Regions from separate parts of the Homo sapiens genome. Here regions 2 and 3 are each linked to region 1. Evidence: promoter capture Hi-C in 16 types of primary human blood cells and fetal thymus (Javierre and others, 2016). All regions are on one chromosome and are shown on one strand. The core of a region is centred on a gene start or on the middle of the fragment in contact, and the rest is flanking DNA. Distances in the headings are between cores, read along the strand shown.

Evidence for each region. Contacts are between HindIII fragments. The CHiCAGO score rates a contact against its expected background, and 5 or more counts as called.
Region 2: a contact is called between a fragment that was not itself captured here and the fragment with the promoter of KCNK16 in region 1, in 2 of 17 cell types (naive CD4 T cells and activated CD4 T cells). The highest score is 7.6, in naive CD4 T cells.
Region 3: a fragment that was not itself captured here is called in contact with the fragment with the promoter of KCNK16 in region 1 in 2 of 17 cell types (naive CD4 T cells and activated CD4 T cells); the score reaches 5.4 in naive CD4 T cells.

What each region holds. Positions count from the first base shown.
Region 1 is chr6:39,321,429-39,323,967 of GRCh38, reverse strand. KCNK16 (potassium two pore domain channel subfamily K member 16) reads left to right here and starts at 1,266. Exons shown (of 5, transcript NM_001135106.2): 1 at 1,266-1,640. The coding sequence starts at 1,428. All of the region lies in intron 1 of LOC105375047 (a long non-coding RNA gene), which reads right to left. The HindIII fragment of the contact is 9,631 bases long and covers 1-2,539 here.
Region 2 is chr6:38,970,779-38,973,317 of GRCh38, reverse strand. It overlaps DNAH8 (dynein axonemal heavy chain 8), which reads right to left. Exons shown (of 93, transcript NM_001206927.2): 83 at 1,653-1,726. Among named protein-coding and RNA genes, the nearest start is that of DNAH8-AS1, 19 kb to the right of the region's middle. The HindIII fragment of the contact is 446 bases long and covers 1,038-1,483 here.
Region 3 is chr6:39,020,181-39,022,719 of GRCh38, reverse strand. The region is part of intron 91 of DNAH8 (dynein axonemal heavy chain 8); the gene reads right to left. Among named protein-coding and RNA genes, the nearest start is that of GLP1R, 27 kb to the left of the region's middle. The HindIII fragment of the contact is 555 bases long and covers 1,001-1,555 here.

The DNA of each region.
Region 1 (2,539 bases), core at 17-2,516:
AAGCCGGGGTTCTGCTAGCTGGGGAGGAGGGAAAGGATACTCAGCAGGCAACTCACAGTGTCTGCAGCCACAGCTCATTAAAGGAAACAGCAGAAAACACAGCAGAGATATTGGAATCCTCGCCCTGGGCTAGTGAGAATATAAAATGGTTCAGCCACTTTGGAAAATAGCCTGGCAGTTCCTCAAAAAGTTCAATACAGAGTGGCCAGATAGTCCAGAAATTCTACTCCTAGGTATGTACCTGTGAGTAATGCAAACACATGTCCACAAAAAAAACTCATACACAGAGGTTCATAGCTGCTTTGTTCTTAATAGAAGGAAACAGGGACAACCCAAATGTCCATCAACTAGAAATCAAATGGATAAACAAATGTGTTATAGCCACACAATGAAATATTACTCAGCCAGAAAGAAGGAAGAAGTACTGTTACATGTTGCAACAGGGCTGGATCTTGAAGACCCTGTGAATATACTAAAACCCACTGAATTGCACACTTTAAATGTGTGGACGATACAGCATGTGAATTATATCTGTATAAAGCTGTTATACATGTACATAAACAAGCATGTGTACACACACACACACAGGCAAAGAGAAAGGAAAGCACTCTCAATTCCATCCACTCAGAGACAGCCCCTCTTACCATCCCAGGATCAGGATATACTTATAGTTTCTTTTTAATTCACACATATATTTCACCGACATATCCTCTGAAGGTAACCCACTAGAGGGCTTCATGCAAGACAAATTAGCAAGAGTTATAAAACCAATGAATCCAACTTATCAGCAGAATCAACCCTGATACTCTTACCATCAGGCTGAGTGAGACAATCACCTGTCTATTTACTTTGCCCTGATTTGTCACGCAGTTTACTCATCCTGAGGTTCCCCCAATAGGCAGTTCAATTATCCTGCCCCATTTTGTAGCCAAGGCAACTGAGTAGAAGGTTTATTCATACCCATTCTGACCTCTTCCCAGCTCCTAAGCTGGGGTCTTACAGCCTTCAAGGGTGAAGACGCTGGGGGCGGCCGAGAGAGCCCACTGGGGCCTGGACAGAGTGAGCACACCTATCCGATTTAGCCCAGAAACATCTATCCAACTTGGAGACAGAGAGAGAGACATGAAGCACTCAGGAGAACCTGGTAGGTCTCTTTGAAGGGTCCCTGACACTGACTTGCTGCTGTCCATGGAAACAAAGGCCGGGTGGGGGTGGCCGGCCTGTTTGCACTCACAGCATAGCACTTAGTGCAGCCAAGCTGAGCCGCACTGTTCAAACAGTCTCCCCAGCCTCCAGACACCTGTGCCGAGGAGGAGGGCAGGGCAGGCGGCAGCCTGGGCACAGGCCCCTAGGTGCTTACTCCTCACCTGTTTCCCACCTCTCCCCCATAGCCAGCCCCACGGCCCTGGCAGGGTCCTGGCCACAGCATGCCCAGTGCTGGGCTCTGCAGCTGCTGGGGTGGCCGGGTGCTGCCCCTGCTGCTGGCCTATGTCTGCTACCTGCTGCTCGGTGCCACTATCTTCCAGCTGCTAGAGAGGCAGGCGGAGGCTCAGTCCAGGGACCAGTTTCAGTTGGAGAAGCTGCGCTTCCTGGAGAACTACACCTGCCTGGACCAGTGGGCCATGGAGCAGTTTGTGCAGGTGAAGGGGAGCGATGTGGGATTGGGATGGAGAGGCTTGGGAAGGTTGGTGGAATGGGGTTCCTGTGGCAGATCCACAGTCCTCACCCAGGAGCTGATGCCCCATTTGGAAGAAGAGTGTGGTGGGAACAGAGAGCCTGGTGAGATCTAATCCTGGATTCTGGCCCCAGGTCTACAACTGGATTGATGTGTGACCTTGAACAGGTCACTTAACCTCTCTGGACCCAAACAGCCTCATCTATAAGGCAACAAGAATAACCATATCGGTACTGCAGACATTTGACAGCAGATTAAAAGCACTCTCTAAGCTGTCACTTGCTGGATGAATGGGAACTATATGTCAGCGTTATCAACGCTATCCAAATTTCCTCCTCCCACACTTTCATACTTCCCCTTCCCCAACTCCAGGGCTGCAGCTCCTTCTGCCCTCTCCCAGCTCATATCCCTGGGCAGACGGCTGCGGGTGGGAGACACAGATAAATGCCAGGAGCAGCCACCACCAAGCTGTCCTTTCCTGGCCTGTTTGCACCTGGAGTTGGGTTTGGTGGGCAATGGCCAAGGTGACTGAGCTTGCCAGCACTGCACCCAAATGGGGCTCTCTCTTGGTAACAGAGTGGGTCACCCCCTGCCTGGGTCCTTTCTGGTTTCCTCTTTCCCAGAAACAAGACAAAACCAGGTGTTGTGGAGGGAGGTGAATGCATCTGAAATAGGCACTGGAGCGAGTGACAACATCCCCTGCAAAGGAACAGACCAAGTGCCAAATCACCTTGATAACTGGCATTTACTGAGCATTCACAATGTGCCTAAAACAGTGGGAAGCAGGGTGGTCATGACCAGCTTAATCCAATCATGATCCACTCATCACCTGACACTGAGCGTGTTACAGGTGTTTTCTCATAA
Region 2 (2,539 bases), core at 11-2,510, 350 kb after region 1:
GGTAAATCAGAACTGACTCACCCCCAAAACCCAGAAGACTGGTTCACAGTTATTCATAGTTACAAAGAAAGATACACATGATCTCATGAAAGCTGGAGACAATACGTTTGGTGACATTTACTACCATAATGCTAAGCTTTATTCTTTATCATCACTCTCCACACTTTCCTGAAACCACATAACTTATTAAGCACTTTCTAAATAAATACTTGATTAAACAAACTACCTTAAACAATATGTCACAAAACCATCACTGCCCTGTGAGAACATAGTTTCTTTACTAGACATTTTAATACCTTTATACAGGAATCAGCTATCTTGAACTACATAAAACTACAAAATAGTGAGCATGATAAATATATGGCAAGGCATATATACCATGTCTCAACTGTAAGCGAAAATACAACTCACACCGGCTTAACTAGTAAAGGGGATGTGCCGTCTATACAACTGGGGTTTCAGAGGAAAACAGCATTCAGGATTAGTTTGTGTCATCATGGACCCACTTACTTTCTGGTTCCCCACTCTGTGTTCCACAATGCCAGCTTTATGCTAAACATGGTGTCCCTCAAGGCGGCAACATGGCTGCACCTGCTCATGTCTGGTTTTCTTTTCTGATTATGCCATATAATCAATACTTACCCCACTTTGACAAACAGACCATGGAAGTTATAAAGGCTAGTATTCCAAAGACAGTTAACATGAACACCGTATTTAAATTAAAGTTTTGCACCCACAGAAACTAAAGAAATTATTTAAGGCCCAAAGTTAAACTGTCAAATCACTCAATAGAGTGAAACATTTGATCCGAGTAAAAATAATTATGTATAATTGCTTTGAGATATACATGTATAAATTAAATAAATTATTGAATTTAATTAAGTGATAAAGATTGAGGCTTAGGGCATTTGAGAATTAATGACTAGCTGGAAAAGTTGATGACCCAACAGAGTTTTAGCCCATTAACCCTCTCTAGTCATTAATTCCCAGGGAAAAGCTGCACCAAAGTTTGTACAGACATTCTGAGATCAAAAGCTTAAAAATAAACCAATATCTTATTTTATTTTTATAAATGGTATAATTTCTTATTACAGCTGAAATGGCTATCTACAGAGCATTTCTAGAAAATTAATGTCCTGTGTATTTATTAGGTGTGATGGGAAATCTCTCTCAACACTCCATTCAGCTTGCAATTATTAGTGAAAACCATTATCAGTATTTAAACATAGCATCCTTAAATATTCCTTCTTTGCCTGAAATGATCCGTTAATGAAAAATGAAAGTCTGCCTTTAACTGAAAATGGAAATTTAACTGTCTCAATCTGTCACTCCTTAAGTACTACCTATTCATATTGATCATGAAATTCCAAGACTGCTAGAGATGCATTCTTAGAAATCAGAAGGTGTGTCTCCCAAATCATAAAACGAACAAAAAATTGGTGAAGGTAAAATGGAGCATATACTATAGAAAATGGAATAAGCTTTCCATGCGAATATCAGGAGGAAACTAGACTGAGGTTTAAAATTCACAGGTAATGATAAACAAAAATGGAAAAACCAGGATTGAGCATCACGAGAAGAATGTGGTAACATCCATGATTGTGGGGTTTCTAGCAATAATGTTGCAGCAGGAGCAGTCTCTTGTCACATACCTGCTGCATTGACATCTGAATCAGCTTTCGAGCATGTACTTCTTGTCCTTGCCCCATTGAGATAGTTCTACATTCTGTAACATAGGAGAAAGTTCACTATGATGAAACACAACTCTTACAGCAGGATTAGAATGAAAAATTAATTTCTGAATGATTATAGCCTCCTTCTATTGTTTCTAAAAAAAAAAAAAAATCTTTGCTGTTCAAACAGGCCTGGCCTTTGGTTGTGTGGATCAGAGAAATGCATGGAGCAGAGACCTGGAGGCACCACCCGGAAAAGCGTGGGTTGGGGGTCAGGAAGGGAGAGAAAAAGGCACGTATGGTGGGCTTTTAGAGAGTTTGAGATTCTTTGGAGACAATGAGGAACAAGATCAATGGTGGGAGAGGCAACTACAATGCTATCACAGGTATTTGTAGGGAAAAAGGATTTTTTAGTTTTGCTGTAAGTTTTGGTTAGAATCCTTTTCGGCGTTTTAGCAGACGCTTCTGTAAAGATTTAATTTTCTGTTTATTCCTTTTAGATATCAGGCTCACAGTGTTTTCTGTCTGCTTGTTTTGGTTTTCTTTGTATGTTTGATCATTTTTCTGAGATGAAATTTGAGACAGTTCAGCCCTGTGACGGGTACATTCAGGGGCAACTGTCTAAGACCTAGTTCTCAGCTGCTCCTCAGATTAAATCACCACCTTGGAACTAAACATGAAAACACTCCACGATGAGAAATGTCATAATTCCAGAGATAATACACCATTTAGGACCAGATGTCCCAGGCAGAGAACCATGCTTGTGACCTCCCACATGAATTAGCTAAAATGAAGAAGTCTGAGAATCATGTTTGCACAACTGCAATTGGAAATTAACTCTTAAGCAAGCCCTTGTGGACCCAAAT
Region 3 (2,539 bases), core at 29-2,528, 300 kb after region 1:
ACCCCTGGGATCACACGACCAGAAAACAAGACCCCAGAGGTTTCTTGAATCTCTGCTTACCAGAGAAGCTGAGTGCAGCCCTGCCAGCCCATCCCTGAGCAGGGCACCCCCAGGTGGGACAAAGCAAGGTATGGCTCGACTGGGCAGGGCAGGGCAGGGCTGGGCAGGCAGGTGGGCTCTGGAAGGGGAGGATGGTAGCAGACAGGGTGTTGCCTCCTGCCTGCAGGTGGGAAGCACCCTGATTGAGTGGGCTGAGAAGGGTTGGTCACCAAGCCTGGACCCCCCAGCTCCTTTGGTTATAGGCTGATATCAGAGTAGTGGCTCACAGGAAGCAGTTAGCTGGAAAGTCTGAGGCCTGGTCCATAGGGTCAGGGAGGAGCTGGGGGAAGAGGACAGTACCGTGAAGGCAGATAAAAAGGTAGCAGCCTCAGATTTCTGCATCCCCCTGGGGTTTGCCAACCCAAAGCCTGCAGCTTACTTTATAAAGAGAAGAAAAAAAAACACTTAATGAAAGTTATAGACAGCTACCCCCCACTTACCCACACACACAAAATCCAAATGATTTTTTTCATCTCCCCTCCAGCCTCCTCCCAATACAATACAGTTTCCTGTTTTCTTTCTTTTAAAAAATTCCCTTTTAAGCTAGGATTATACTTTGGAAACTCAGGTCTAAAGTAACACTTGTTATGTGTCCATTCCTATAATAGTAGTAATCCAACAGTTCAACACACTCACGGCTGTTGTTTGACTTGTGCAATCAGCTGGCTTAAAGAAAGCTGAAGAGTGCTTTAAATATCATTTCATACAAGGTCTTAGAAAAGGTGAAAGAAATAACTAATCAGGAAGATTGCTCTTCTCAAATTTATAAGGAGTTGGTTGGCATTTTGTAATGATTTACACTAAAAATAAGCAACATTTTCTTTTCTTTAATAAATGAACTGGTCCTTATGCAATAGGCCTTAGGCTGTGCAGTATTTCCTGTCTAATCAGTTACTAAGCTTCCCAGCAGCATCTTTGAAGATGAGGAGAAATGATGTTCCTGCCACGAGTTTAAGACAGGCAGTTTTTCCCCCAAATGAGAAGCAAATGTAGTTCATTGGTAAATTAAACCAAAGGTCAGAAATCATTAAACAAAGATAGGGTTGGTCAACCCCGTTGAATAAAAATGCACCAAGCACCTTCCCCGGTTCTTTGCTGTAAGGCAGGGACATTAAACTGCTGAAAATTAGAGACACCCAGGAATCTTCTAAAACTCCCAATTCCCAAGTCACAGCTCAGATAAATACAATCAGAATCTCTGGAGGTGGAACCCAGGCACCAGATTTGTTTTAAGGCAGGGATTCTCAGACTTTAATGTTCATGGGAATCACCTGAGGAGGGGGATGTACTAAAAGTGCATGTTCTGATTCAGTAGGTAGATCAAGAGTGGGGCCTGAAATTCTGCATTTCAATCAAGCTCCCAGGTGATACAGACGCTGCTGGCTGGTGGACCACATACTGGGTAGCAAAGGTCCAAGGTCAAGGTTCTTCACTCATTAGAATGACCAAGGAAGCTTTTCAGAAAATTTATTGCCACCAACAGTGTGACAGCATTCCTATTTCTCCGCAGCCATTGTGAAAGACAGTGTGGCAATTCCTCAAGGATCTAGAACCAGAAATACCATTTGACCCAGCAATCCCATTACTAGGTATATACCCAAAAAAATACAAATCATTCTGCTATAAAGACACATGCACACATATGTTTATTGCAGCACTACTTATAATAGCAAAGACATGGAACCAACCCAAATGTCCATCAATGATAGACTGGATAAAGTAAATGTGGTACATATACACCATGGAATACCATGCAGCCATAGAAAGGAATGAGATCATGTCCTTTGCAGGGACATGAATGAAGCTGGAAGCCATCATCCTCGGCAAACTAACACAGGAATAGAAAACCAAACACCGCGTGTTCTCACTCACAAGTAAGAGTTGAACAATGAGAACACATGGACACAGGGAAGGGAACACACACACTGAGGCCTATTGGTGGGGGAAGGGGAAGGAGAGCATTAAGACAAATAGCTGATGCATGCGGGGCTTAAAACCTAGATGATAGGTGCAGCAAACCACCATGACACATGTATACTTATGTAACAAACCTGCACGTTCTGCACATGTATCCCGGAACTTAAAGTAAAATAAAAAAGAAAAGAAAAGAAAATTGATTGTATGGATTCTAGAGGGCTCATCCCTAGAGATTCTGATATACTTGTTCTGGGGCCCCAGGCAGTAGTATGTGTTAAAAGCTCCCTGGGTGATTTTACTGTGGAGGCAGGTGTGAGAACCACTGCCCCGTAAAAAGCTCTGCAGACAAGTCATTGACAGTCACTGATGCACAGTTGTTTTAAGAACAAGTTTGACAAGTGGGAAGAGTACAGGCACAATATTAAGAAGACTGTCACTAGTACAAGCTGACTCTTTCCAGGGCCCCTTGAGACACACACCTTCTCTGAAATGACTAATCCAGGACATAATTGGCTCCAGTAAA